2 separate regions of the Homo sapiens genome follow, and region 2 is linked to region 1. Evidence: promoter capture Hi-C in 16 types of primary human blood cells and fetal thymus (Javierre and others, 2016). All regions are on one chromosome and are shown on one strand. The core of a region is centred on a gene start or on the middle of the fragment in contact, and the rest is flanking DNA. Distances in the headings are between cores, read along the strand shown. Region 1 holds the start of OR8K3 (olfactory receptor family 8 subfamily K member 3 (gene/pseudogene)). Region 2 has its middle 8.9 kb from the start of OR8H1.

Region 1 (7,539 bases), core at 1,031-3,530:
TAATATGGCACCATTACCCAATGGGAGTAGCCAGCTGCCTGGCAGGAGTTTGGTTACATTGCACTGTTTCCAACATTTAAGAGCAGCATTTTGTTCTTAGTGCAATATATACTTACTCTGGATACAGATTTTCCTTCTCTGCAAGCAATTCTGCCAAAACTACCTTCCAAGTTATAGAATGCCTTATGTACCATCATGATATTCCACATGGCATTACATATATCAAGAAACTCACTTCACAGATAAAGAAGTGCAGCAATGTGTCCATGATCATGGAATTCACTAGTCATACTCACCATGCTGCCCAACATCCCAAAGAAACTGGCTTTGAAATTTTAATTACAATTCAGCTAGATGGCAATAATTTGAATAGCTGGGGAAAAGTTTGCAAGAAAGCTATATATGCTTTGAATTAGTCTCCAGTATATTGTGCTGTTTTTTTGCCATAGACTGGATCTAGTAGCCTAGGAATGAAGAGATGGAAGTATGAGTGACACCACTCACTATTTTTTTTAATTTTTTAATTTTTTTATTATCCTTTAAGTTTTAGGGTACATGTGCGCAATGTGCAGGTTAGTTACATATGTATACATGTGCCATGTTGGTGTGTTGCACCCATTAACTCGTCATTTAACATTCAAGACACCACTCACTATTAACCCTAGTGACCCACTGTCAAAATTTCTGCTTCCTGCTCCATTGACTTTAAGCTTTACTGACCTACAGGTCTTAGTCACAGAGGAATGAATGCTTCCACCTAGAGAAATAGCAATAATTCTATTGAATTGGAAGTTAAGACTCTTACCCAGCCATTTTGAGCTCCTCATGCAACTGAATCAATAGACAAAACAGGAAGTTATCACACTTGATCCTGACTTTCCAGGGGAAATTGGGCTATTACTTCACAATACAAGGAAGAATAAGCCTGGAATATGGGACATTCCTTAGGACATCTTTTATTAATAAGAAAAACTGTAATAATAATATACGGAAAACTGTAATAGCCCAAACTAGCCAGAACTACTAATGGCCCACATTCTTCAGGAATAAAGGTTTGGGCCACTTCACAAGGAAAAAAGAACCATGGCCAACTAAGGTGCTTGCTAAAGACAAAAGGAATAGAGTATGGAAAGAAGAAGAAGACGGTTATAAATACCAGCTATAATCATGTGGCCAGTTCAGAAATGAGGACTGTAATTGTAATGAGAATTCCATCCTAATTTTATTATAAATATGTCTGTGTATTTATTAAGATGCTTTATTCCATTTTTTATTACCTTATTATATAAATATGATATATGGACTTTACATCAATATTTAAATATTGTTACTTTTACACTGTAGAATTTTACTCTGAGAAAATCAGGAGAAGAGTCAGTATCACTCAAAGAATATATGTCCTGATTGGAATAAAGGATTAGTGAGTTTTTATTTATATGCCGGATAGTTGTGTCATGTAAAGCAAAACTATGACCTTGTTATTGTCTATGTTTAGAGAGACTAAGTATGGTTTAAGTACATGCTTATGTTTGCCAAGCTGACAAGGGGTGGAGTAATGACGATTAAAGTGTTGACTTAACTAGGCTATATGATGCCCAGATAGCTGGCAAACATTATTTCTGGGTGTGCCTGTGAGGATACTCCTGGAAGAGACTACGATTGTTAGACAGAGTAACTATCATCCTCACCAATATAGGTGGGTATCAGTGCAATCAATTGAGGCCTTGAATAAAACAAAAAGACAGAGGAAGGGTGAGTTCACTCCCTGCTTAAGCTAGGACATCCTTCGCTTCCTGCCATCAGACATTGACATCCCAGATTCCAGAGCCTTCGAATTCAGACTATGATGTACACCCTTGGCTCCCCTGGCTCCCAATATTTCAAGTTTGAACTGAATCTATACCACCAGCTTTCTTGAAGTTTGCAGACAGCAAATCACAGGAATCCTCAGCCTACATAATTGCATAAAACAATTCATAATAAATCTCTATTATCTATCTATCTATCTATCTATCTATCTATCTATCTATCATCTATCTATCTATCTATCATCTCTCATCTAACTATCTCTTCTTAGTACTGTTTTTCTGGAGAACTCTGATACACTAGTGAATACAAACTGTCTTCTACAACTAATGGACAGCCTCAAACATTTTGTTATGCTCTCAAATGCTTTAGGAATTATCAATAAATTGCCTGCCATCTCCTCAGGGAGAGTCTCAAAAGATTAAAAAATGCATAAATTGTTCTCACTGTGCCATGTGAGAGACACATGGAGGAGTCAAGACAGAGGCTTCCTTACAGGTAAAAAAAAAAAAAGTAAGAATGTTTCTTGTGGTGTCATATGTTACAGATATCTATAATGCTTCAGTGACATTGGAAAACTGCCACTTTAATTTGATGACATAACCATAGTAAAGTGTGACAATTTCTGATTCATTTCTCCGGGATTTCTGTTACTCAATAATGCCTAAGCAGAAATAACGGTGCTCCATTTTTCATATGCTTTTTAAGTATTTTACATGGTTTCACAGGCTGAATGCTATAAGCATCTTTGAAACATTATCATGATATTGTTTCTAAAGTATTCATTTTACATATTTTTCTCTAATTGAGGCCAAAACTTGGAGAAAATAAAGCACAATGACAAGGAGATAAATATATTTTTAATGAAAGAATGGAGAAACTGCAACTATTTGGTCAGTCATGTTCATGTCCTTCCAAATACTTGTTATTTAGATGCTCTAGGCTCTCAGACCCCTTAACAATAATTTAACACTGAATGATTATTCAAATAAATGTGTAGATATGATTGTTTTCTCACTGCTTGGTGAGTCAAAAAGGGGGTTGCTACCTTACATTCGAATGTGAAAAGCATTATTAAAAATTATGAGGCTTTTTGGGTAATCATAGGCACAGAAAAAAAAAACATTTTAAAATAGAAGAAAATAAAATTAGGAGACTGTTAAGTACCCAGTTTTAGGGAACAATACAATTTTCAGAAAGTACTTCAATTTCCACTAAGAGTTGACAAAAGCAGATATTATTTTCTCAAAGATTGTAGCTTTAAAAAATGCAATTGATATTCAACAAAGACAGCAAAATATGAAAAAAAGCAATCTGGTTCTTTCCACAGAACTCCAAAGATGGTGAAAGGAACCTCATTTATATTTCCTTACCTAACAAGAAAACAGGTACTTATCCATGATATTATTTGCCTTTCTAAATTGCCAAACTGTACAAAACAAGCAAACAAAATACAGGATTTATGCTGCTCATCATCTTATTTACTAAAGATATTTATCTAACTTTTCCATCTACTGCCACACATTACCATATATCTAATATGAGAAAGGTGTGTTCATTGAGTCAGGGTAGGATAGGAGTAGGTCATAATTTTATTTAAAAAATTAAGTTCAAATAATATGTAATCATCTTTATATTTAATGTAACACAATTGCTTGTCTTTATTTTTTCATAGCTCACTCTGAGATTGCTGTCACTATAATTTTCATTGTAAAAACTATTTTCTTTCTTTTCTTTTTTCAAAAAACATTGGGGCTTACGATTTTTTTTAACTAATAATGATTATCTTAGGTTATCATGCCCTCCATCTCCTGCTCTACTATATTTTAAATCTGTGGGTTATTGGGGGATATTTAGATATATATTTATTCGATTATACATATGTTAATTTGTATTATGTGCTATACCATATTTCCTAGTTTCTGTGGCTTGCATGTTCAGAAAAGTTTTAAATCACAGCCAGAAATCCACGTATATCTCATGTTTAGTGTATTCATTTTGTCTCTATGTTATTGTGTAACAAGGTGACTTTTAATCATTTCTTTAATCTACAGTATCCTTTTACCCAAAAAGTAGCTTTTACTAATTTTCATTATACAAAACCAATATGAAGGACCACATTTTCTCCCAATTTGTTCAGATTTCCTCAAACTCCCCTAAGATTTTGTATGATAAAACAAACTTAACGTTCACATTCAAGTTAGCATTTCTCAATTATATTGAGAATAAAACTATGGGAAGATTAATGTTTTAATAAAGTTTATATAAAAATAATTTATTTAAAATGTTATTAAATTCGTTGTGAAAAATAGATAAGTAATCCAAAACAATAGCATACCAATTACCCAAGTTTAGTCATGAATTGGGGGAGGGGAGAAGAACTGCCCTAAGTTGCAAGTATTACATCCTACTTGACCTGTGACTCCCCTAGGCATCATTATGGTCCTAACAAAGAAGTTAATTCATAGTCAGAATAATGTATGTGTACACATGTAAAAAAAACCTCTTTCAAGTAAGGCATTGTCACAATTAAAACAAATAACAAGAAGAAGAAAACTCACAATGTACTTGATGTTTTAGAACTACTTCTAGGCAGCAAAGACACATTGAATCACTTAATCTTCAGTCATCCTTCCCAACAATTCTGCAATGACATGTTGGTTCTGGATATTAGAACAAACAGTTTTAGATAACTTACACTATTTGCCTAAAATAACCTTTCAAATATGACATAAATTAAGATATAGTGTAGAATATATCTATATCCATATATTTCCTGATATTTTTTGCTTTGTAAATATAAATAATTGCCACTGTCATCTGTTATGCTGCTCTTACTCATATGCCTAATATCTGTCAACTCTATTAAAGTCTCAGCTGTACCACCCGAAGAGATAAGGGTATTCACAGGATGATGTTTTGAAGCAGGTGGTTTTATGCATTTTTGGAATCTGTGACAGAAATTTTTTATATAACTAAAATTGTATTATGTCACAATTTTAATCTATAAATATGACCAAGCTCTAAAAACATAGTACAATAATTGTTCATATATCAGATATCCACGGTATTAACAATGTTTTTAACTTTAAAATTTTTCTTTATATATCTATACAGACATGAATATCTGTATCTCTTTCTCTCTCTCTCATATGATTCTATCTGTTCATCCATAATCTATCTATCTACCCATTAACTATCTATCTATCATCTGTCTATTCATGTATCTCATCAGAGTTTCTCAACCTTAGCACTATTGATATTTGGGGTTGGGTATTGCGATGGGCTGAGTATTGATTATAGTGGAATGTTTAGCAGCTTACTGGCTTCTAACCTTTAGATGCAACAGTGGCCCACCTCCAAATTGTGATAAATAAAATGTCTCTAGACATTAGAAAATGTTTTTGGGTGAGTAAAATCAAAAGCAACTGAAAACTGCTGATCTGCCTTATCTCTTTCTTAAATTATTTAAACATGTTTTTATTTGTGAGAGGTATGTTTTCAAATGTCGCAAATTGTGAAATTTAGGTATATCTTCTGTTAGCTTTGCATACTAAAAAATTTCTCAGGTGATGATAGAGGAAAGCTATTGACAATGCCGATGTCTCTATCAGAATAGGTTTTCTGATGAACCTGGATGGAACAACACAATCTAACAACGGTGAATGAATTCATTCTTACGGGAATCACAGATATCGCTGAGCTGCAGGCACCATTATTTGCATTGTTCCTCATGATCTATGTGATCTCAGTGATGGGCAATTTGGGCATGATTGTCCTCACCAAGTTGGACTCCAGGTTGCAAACCCCTATGTACTTTTTTCTCAGACATCTGGCTTTCATGGATCTTGGTTATTCAACAACTGTGGGACCCAAAATGTTAGTAAATTTTGTTGTGGATAAGAATATAATTTCTTATTATTTTTGTGCAACACAGCTAGCTTTCTTTCTTGTGTTCATTGGTAGTGAACTTTTTATTCTCTCAGCCATGTCCTACGACCTCTATGTGGCCATCTGTAACCCTCTGCTATACACAGTAATCATGTCACGAAGGGTATGTCAGGTGCTGGTAGCAATCCCTTACCTCTATTGCACATTCATTTCTCTTCTAGTCACCATAAAGATTTTTACTTTATCCTTCTGTGGCTACAACGTCATTAGTCATTTCTACTGTGACAGTCTCCCTTTGTTACCTTTGCTTTGTTCAAATACACATGAAATTGAATTGATAATTCTGATCTTTGCAGCTATTGATTTGATTTCATCTCTTCTGATAGTTCTTTTATCTTACCTGCTCATCCTTGTAGCCATTCTCAGGATGAATTCTGCTGGCAGACAAAAGGCTTTTTCTACCTGTGGAGCCCACCTGACAGTGGTCATAGTGTTCTATGGGACTTTGCTTTTCATGTACGTGCAGCCCAAGTCCAGTCATTCCTTTGACACTGATAAAGTGGCTTCCATATTTTACACCCTGGTTATCCCCATGTTGAATCCCTTGATCTATAGTTTACGAAACAAAGATGTAAAATATGCCCTACGAAGGACATGGAATAACTTATGTAATATTTTTGTTTAAATTTTGTACAATATGATTCCTATAAATTAGGTTATGGGCATGAATTTTTGCTCTGCATACTTCCAGAAGACATAACAAGCATAACTGATTCAACATATATTTACATATGTCTCATACATGATAGGCTCTTCTAATTGCTATACATAGATTAATAAACAAAATAGTAGAAATCTTTGCCTTCCTTGATGGATAGATGAATTGTATTCACAATAAGTCCATTTTATATAACAGTAGAATGTGCACGATGGATATAGACAAAGAAAAAAGGGAGACAAGGAAAGCTAGTATGCTGGGTGGCAGTAGGAAACAGTGGTCATTACAGAAGGGAGTTACGAGGATTCCAGTGTTTTTTATCTGCTACTGGAATAAAATTTACAGTGTGTGTGCTTCTGTATGTTTCTGTTTGTGTGTTTTTGTGTATATAAGCATTTTCCTTCTGTTTTAGCCTTCATACTTTTTGCTTGTATATTCTGACATTGCATTTAATACTGGTTGTTTAGATGATATGTGATGATTTTAAGTCTTACAGATGTGCTCGAATAATTACTATTCCGAATATTAGGATCCTACTATTTCCTTATCAATGTTTTTATTTCCACATAGAAGTCTGTTAACCGAACATACTTTGTAGCTCAATAATCGGTAAATTCTGATTAGCACCTGATTTTGTTTCAGTTAGCCCATTCTGTTTACATGAGTAGATATATCAATTATGCTTAAGTTTAGAAGACATCCATAGAAATTCTCAGGTTTATTCTTTCTCTCTAGTTGTTCTTGCTTAATAACTGCCTTTTTCACAGATTTTCCCGTTATTTATCTAAAAAAAAGTAATAAACTGTGGTTAAAATTTGTGTTCCAGTTGTTTTTACATCTTTGAGGAGGGGGACCATTCTATGATGAATTAACTTTGTAGTCTCTCACTGAGTTGACAATCCATAATTTTTATCAATATGCACTATATCGAATGCACTATATTTTCATTTACTTCACTGTTTGATTGCATCAGTTGATTTTTCTACTTGTACAAAGCAAATAAAAGTAATAAAATGCACTACACCATACTGTATCTATCTGCTGGCTATTACAGATGTCCTTTGACAGTTACAGACCTTCACCATGCAAGTGAGGTCTGATCTGTATGCAATGATATCGTTATC
Region 2 (7,136 bases), core at 1,150-3,649, 33 kb before region 1:
TTTTCTCATACAAGAGGGCTGATGTTATAACAGTAGATTATTATGCTACAGTATATGTTCACCAGGTAAAGAAAGCTTTTTTATAGTTTGCTGACTGAGGACAATAAACCCCTTTACAATCTAGAACCCAAAGACTGGATCTTTTGAGAACATCAGAGAAATACTGCCCTTGTCATCCACACTGTAGCAAAACTTCAATACCTTGAATCTTGGGTTCAAAATCTCACAACTCAGAAGGGTCCGTCCACACAAGTGAAATTGTACACTTCCCTTTGGAACCCTTAAGGTAAAGGTAACCAGGGATGTTTCTCCACAGAAGAAGATAGCATCTTTGATGTGAACAGCTTTTTCCCAAGATCACAGATGAAGATTTCTCTACTATCATGAGACTCTTATCTTTGAATCTTTTTTTCCCTTGCTTAAGTCTCTATGAACAATAGAAGTGAAATGGGAGTATGTTGTGTGCACTCATGGGGTATACTTTTATTTGTAAAGGATTTTGAAGCCAGCCTTATACATGGATAACCTAATACCTTGATAGATGGAAAACGAAGGCCCAAGGTAGATGAGAAATTTTAATGGTACATATGTTGCCTCAAAATCAGTCAGAAACAGAACATTGGTTCACTCCTTTTAACCTACCTCACAGGTTAAAGAGAACATTAAAAGTAGGCCCTTTACTAGAATGGCATCATTTGTTAGGTCCTCTTTTTCCATGGTTTTAAGTAAAAGACGCAATGATTAGGAATGTATCCCTCATGATAGGCTCTATAGCAGATTCTATTGTATAGGTGATGATTATACAACAGACTTTAAATTCTCTTGTAAAAGTTATGCTAAATAATAGAATTGCTCTACATTACTTACTGGCTAAACAGAGAAGTATCTGTGTAGCTGCTGGCACTTGTGGCCTATGGAGAAATATATCACATCAGGTCTTATAGAGGGGATTAACAAAGAGACTGCTTAGTAAAGTGAGTAGACTTTTTAGCTCATTCTTTTATCTTTTTGATTTTAGGTGGTTTGGTTTAGGGGGAACCTGGGTAAGGAGCATACTCCAAACTCTTGGTATTATCCTCCTGATAATAGTAGTTTCCCTGGTGCACTGTATTATCTTAAAAATTTTAAATGTTTGCATGGAGCCATCCTTAGAATGTCAAATGGTGTCTCTTCAACTGGAATGACAAGACCTGAAAGAAATGTGTGACCATATGGGCACCGTAACTTATGAGAGACATGATGAGACTGGAAACCCAAAATGGTGGTAACTGAGAGTGGTGCTTAGGCCCTAAGTGTTTGTCGCAATCTCACCTGAGAACATGAACAAAAGTGGAAAATTTTTAAACAAAATTATGAGCGGTCATTGTTTTGGACTGAGCTTATGCACTAGGCCCCAACAGACCAGACTAAACCAAAATGGAGTCATTCATGCTAAATGTGACATAATTAAGCTAAGACTTTAAGGATACGCTTAGATCCTAGAACACACCAGGTTTTGTTTTCTCTCCTGTAAAAAGGATGTTCCAGCATAAGGAGGTACCCTCTATTCTAACCCTTTCAAAAAAATGAATAAATAACCTGAAGTCCCTGTTCCCATCTTACAAAACCTACTGTTTTGCTATTTCCCAGTGGCTTTCAAGCCCAAATAAGTACATTTATACTGGTGAAACTGACATCAATTACTAAACTTTTTGTCCACCTTTAAAAATTGAGATGACCAAAGAGAGAAATTATTAAATCGAGTTTAACCTGAAGCTGCCTCATTACGTATTTTAACTTTGGCCAAAAGGTTTCTTTGTACATCACAAACTAGAACAAGTGGAGGTGTAAACAGACTGAAGCCTACATCTGTGCCAATCACCAAGTTTTGGCCAATCAAATGGAGCCAACTGTTTGAACCATGTTCAAACATGGCAAACACCAACCTATAACCAATTCAGCTATTTCTATACCTCACTTTTGTTTTCTGTATGTCATTTTCTTTTTCTATCCATAAATCTTCCACCATGTGGCTGCACTGGAATCTCAGAGCCTACTCTGGCTTCAGTGACTGCCCAATTTGCTAATCATTCTTTGCTTAACAAAATTCCTTTAAATTTAATTTGGCTGAAGTTTTTCTTTTATCATGTGTCCTCCTCAATTTCTTTCATTTATGTTTTATAGTTTGCATGGTACAGCTCTTTCACTTCTTTGGTTAAGTTAATTCCTAAGTATTTAACTTTATTTGTAAATATTGCAGACTTTTTATTTTTACTTTTGAATTGATTGCTACTGACATTGTAATCCAAAAATAAAATTCAAATCCCCTTCCTCATCCCACAACCATCTGAATGGACTCCCTCCTAGGCCAGGGCACTCTAAAATTAACCTCAAAGACTGGATCAGGCCATGACTGTAAGTGAGGGTCCTATGTGCCTCACTATACTCCTCCAGTATTAACATCAACACAGACTGTAGGTCTGATAAGTAACATTTACAATCTGTTCTAAACCTGCTACCTGGAGGCTTCATCTGCATGATAAAACCTTGGTCTCCACAACTCCTTATCTTAACCCAGAAATTCCTTTCTATTGATAATAACTGTTTTAGACAATTACCAATCAGAATATCTTTAAATCTATCTATGACCTTCCCCTTCTTCAAGTTGTTCCACTTTTCCACATTGAACCAATGTAAAAATATGATTGATGCATTGTATCCATAAAATGTGTAAAACCAAGTTTTACCCTGACCACGTTGGGCATATGTCATCAGTACCTCCTGAGTCTGTGTCACAGGGGTGTCCTGAACCTTGGCAAAATAAACTTTCTAAATTGACTGAGACCTGTCATCAATATTTTCAGTTTGCAGTGTATAGAAATGGTCAAAAGAAAGAGTCAAACTCTGTAAAATATTTGAAGAGATTTATTCAGGGCCAAATATGGGTGGCCATTGCCCATTACACAGCCCCCATGAGGTCCTGACAACATGTGCCCAAGGTGGTCAAGGCAGAGTTTGGTTTTTATACAGTTTAGGGAGGCATGAAACATCAATCAAATACTTTTAAGAAATACATTGGTTTGGTCCAAAATGGTGGGACAAGTCAAACAGTGGGAGGCAGCAGGTTTCAGGCTATAGGTAAATTTAAACATTTTCTGGTTGATAATTGGTTGAGTTTGTCTAAAGATCTGGAATCCATAGAAAGGAAATGTTCAGATTAAGATAAAAGATTGTGGAGACCAAGGTTCTTTTGAAGTCTTATAGTGTCTGCCCTTAGAGACAATAGATGACAAATGTTTCCTATTTAGATCTTTAAAAGGTGCTAGACTTTTAATTTATCTCATTAGGATTGGGAGGGCCTGGAAGAAAAAACATATATCTATGTTAATAGAGATTCTTTACAGATGGAAATATTCCTTTAAGGACAGCTTTACAGGGCCTTTCAAGATATGGCAAAGACATATGTTTTGGGGTAAAATATTTTGATTTTCTTCCTTGTTTCATAATGTTATGCCAGAGTCAGTTTGGAAAGTAAGTTATGATACATAGGGTTAAATAAAACCCATCTGCTGAAAAATCTATGGTTTCTAGGACATGACTACCCAGATCATTTAGATAAGAATGTGGGCAAGATAAAACAATTAGAGCTTAGTCCTCAAAATGCTACTAATTTTTTATGTTGATTTTTTATCCTGCAACTTTATTGAATTTGTTATCAGCTTTTTAATTAGTTTTCTGGTGGAGTCTCTAGGTTTTTTCAAATATAAGGTCATATCGTCTGCAAATAAGAATAATTTGACTCCTTTCTTTTCAATTTAAATCCTCTTTATTTCTTTCTATTGTCTGATTTCTCCAGTTAGGACTTCCGGTACTATTTCAAATAATAATGTTGAACATGGGCATTCTTGTCGTGTTCTAGATCTTAGAGGAAAAACATTCAGTTTTTTTTGCCATTCAGTATGTTACTAGTTGTGGGTCTGACATACATGGCTTTTATTATATAGAGTTATGTTCCTCTTATACTCAGTTTTTGGAGGGTTTTTGTCATGAAGGGATGTTGAATTTTATCAAATCCTTTTTCAGTATCAATTGAAATGTTCATGTTTTTGGTCCTTCATTCTGTCAATATCATGTATCACTTTGATTGATTTGTGTATATCAAAAAATACTTGCATGCCTGGGATAATTCCCACTTCAACATAATCAATGATATTTTTAAACCGTTGTTGAAATTGGTCTGCTAGTAGTTTGTTGAGAATTTTTGTATTGATGTTCATCAGGGATTTGACCTATAGCTTCTTTTTTGTTTGTTTGTTTGTTTGTTTCAATGGGTCTGTCTGGTTTTGGTATACTGGACTTGTAGAATGAGTTTGGAAGTACCCATCCTCTAGTTTTTGGAATAGTTAAGTAGGATTGGTATTAGTTCTTCTTTAAACATTTTGGTAAATGTAAAATTTATGACAAATATAGCAAAAGGAATGGGAGAGATCTGACTTTACTCTAAAGGTCTTATGTGAAAAGTTGAGATATAGATTATTTTAGGTAAACTATAATACATAAAACATGTTTTTATAATCCAGGGTCAACACTAAGAAGACAGAAGAGAAATATAACCAATATCAGGAATGAAATAAGGTATTTTACTCTGGTCCCTACAAATATGACAAGGAAAATAAGAACATTATAAACAACATTTTGCTAATAAAATTGACAATTAAATGAAAAATACAAATGAAAAATGTAAAGAAGCTTACATCAGAAGAAAGGGGTAACCAGGGTAGTCCTATGTCTACTTAAAAAATTGAATATGTTCTAAAAACCATCCATATGAACACAACGTTTGGAATTGTCTTCCTTACTGTCAAAAAATCTCACCTTTCTCTCAGACTAGAATGTGGGCAAAGTACTAGATTAACTCTCTTCAACAACATAGAAGAAGACATCAGGGAGATAATAGAGCAATAACATAGAAGAACCTGTGTCCTAAGATTGCCTTGTGAAAAACAGCTCCCCACAAAGTCTAGTCAGGTCAAGAGTAATAAGAATAAAACAAAGAACACTCTGCAGGTTATATTTAAGGATACTTTGTTGTTGTTGGGTCACTCTGTTTCTGAATCCTTTTTTTTTTCTTTAACATCAGAAAAGCCTGTATCCTGATTAAATACAAATTCTCTCCCCAGCACCATCCCATCATCTGATAAACTGTTCTTTCCTTTATTGAGTGCTTTTTCTGTAAATAGGACTGTACCTATACATCTGAGATTTAGCTAGTACTGCCAAAATCATACTCTCCTCTATCAACAGCCCTAGAGAATGTTTATCAGCAGCATATCCCCTTTAATAACCTCTATTATTTTGTTAATGCCTTTAATAGGGTGTAAGGGATTTTTTTTTGTTAAGAAAAGAATCCTAAATGCCCATCAATCAATGAGTGGAGAAAATATTGCTCTATGTGTATATATTCCATATATATGGATATATGATGGAATACTACTCAGCCATAAAAAGGAATGAATTAATGGCTTTAACAGCAATCTGGATGGAACTGGAGACTATTATTCTAAGTGAAGTAACTCAGGAATGGAAAACCAAACATTGTATGTTCTCACTTATAAGTGGGAGCTAAGCTATGCAGATGCAAAGGCATAAGAATTACACAATGGACTTTGGGGACTTGAGGGAGAGGGTAAGAGGGGGGTAAGGGATAAAAGACTACAACTGGGTTCAGTGTATACTGTTCTGGAGATGGGTGCACCAAAATCTCACAAATCACCACTAAAAAGCTTGCTCATGTAACCAAATACCACCTGTTCCCCAAAAAATGTATGGAAATAAAAATTTTTTAAAAAATCATGCAGTTATCTGTGGGAAGGAAGCTTCAGGAAGAAGAGAAAATGGAAAACTTCAGGCAGTGTTAGTAATACTATTTACAGCGAAGAGCTGGGAGATAATGGAATAGAGACAAAGTAAGTGTGACAGGTGGAATAATAAGAAATAAGTTCATAGACTTAAGAATTGAGGACATCATTTTCAACCAATGAACACTTATAAAGTTCTTGGTTTTTATTTTTAGTGTGAGGAAATACTGTATAGGGTTTGTGAAGAGAAATGATATAATCCAACCTACTATTTAACAGTATAACTCTGGCTCCTATATAGAGATTCAACTCAAGAGGAATAAGAATAAAATTACATGCATGCTACCACACTACAGCAATAATTCTGACACTAAAAAGACAGTTATCTGGGCCAGGATGGTAGCAAAAAATGTGTTCAGACACCAAATGTATTCCATATTTAGAAGAACTTTAATATATTAATTGAATGGAAGTAAAGTGTGTTTAATAAAAATAAAATTCCAAGATAATTCTTTTTTTTTCGGTGGGGAGAGAGCATGTTTTCTTAGTATTGCATTAAATGTCTATGAGCTGATGATACAAAAGAAAAGCAAACACAAGGACATGGGTATAGATTCTTACTAATTGATGAAAACCATTCAAACTGCAAACACAGTTTGCAGATATTAATTGCAAAAGTCTGAGACAAACACTTTCCGAGATGTGAGTGTATCAATAGGATTCTGATGTTACCAGGACTACTTTGATATTCCTTTGCATTTGTTTTCTGCATTAGCCTGAAATTCCCCCATTGAAGTTGCTGGAACCACTGACTATCCCGTCCTCTCTAGAACTTCAGTTTAAATAATCAGAAGTACATTTGCTTCCCAGGCTGCACTTCTGCTTATTGTTCAACTTTCAAAGGGCAAAGTGTCCTTTTCTGAATATTTGATCGAATGCCCAGAATTTAAAATGATTTCTCCACCTCTCTGACTTGTGGCTGAGAAAGCTGTCACTCGCAGACAGTTCTCCCTAAGATGTGTGTCTATATCTGAAACAGTTACAGAAAGCCTCTCCTGGCCACATAGAGTTGAAAGAAATAGTTAGGCTTGTAAGAAAAGTTATTGAAAGGTGACAAGAATTACATAATAATATGAGCTGAGTGTACAAATGAGTCCTCAGGAGAGGAGGGCAGTGTCCTCACTTCAAGCCAAGTAAAGGCCCCAGGCCCACCCATTGCTGGCTTGAATGCTCTGTTTCAGCTTAAGCTAAAGCCTATATTTACCCAGTTCTGGAGCTCCTCTGTGTTTTATTTACTTT

Evidence for each region. Contacts are between HindIII fragments. The CHiCAGO score rates a contact against its expected background, and 5 or more counts as called.
Region 2: a contact is called between a fragment that was not itself captured here and the fragment with the promoter of OR8K3 in region 1, in 1 of 17 cell types (neutrophils). The highest score is 5.2, in neutrophils.

Annotation. Positions count from the first base shown.
Region 1 is chr11:56,312,864-56,320,402 of GRCh38, forward strand. It overlaps OR8K3 (olfactory receptor family 8 subfamily K member 3 (gene/pseudogene)), which reads left to right and starts at 2,281. Exons shown (of 3, transcript NM_001005202.2): 1 at 2,281-2,304; 2 at 3,137-3,194; 3 at 5,421-7,539. The coding sequence starts at 5,444. The coding sequence ends at 6,382. The HindIII fragment of the contact is 10,208 bases long and covers 709-7,539 here.
Region 2 is chr11:56,279,815-56,286,950 of GRCh38, forward strand. No RefSeq gene overlaps it. Among named protein-coding and RNA genes, the nearest start is that of OR8H1, 8.9 kb to the right of the region's middle. RefSeq lists an enhancer at 2,984-3,485. The HindIII fragment of the contact is 4,653 bases long and covers 74-4,726 here.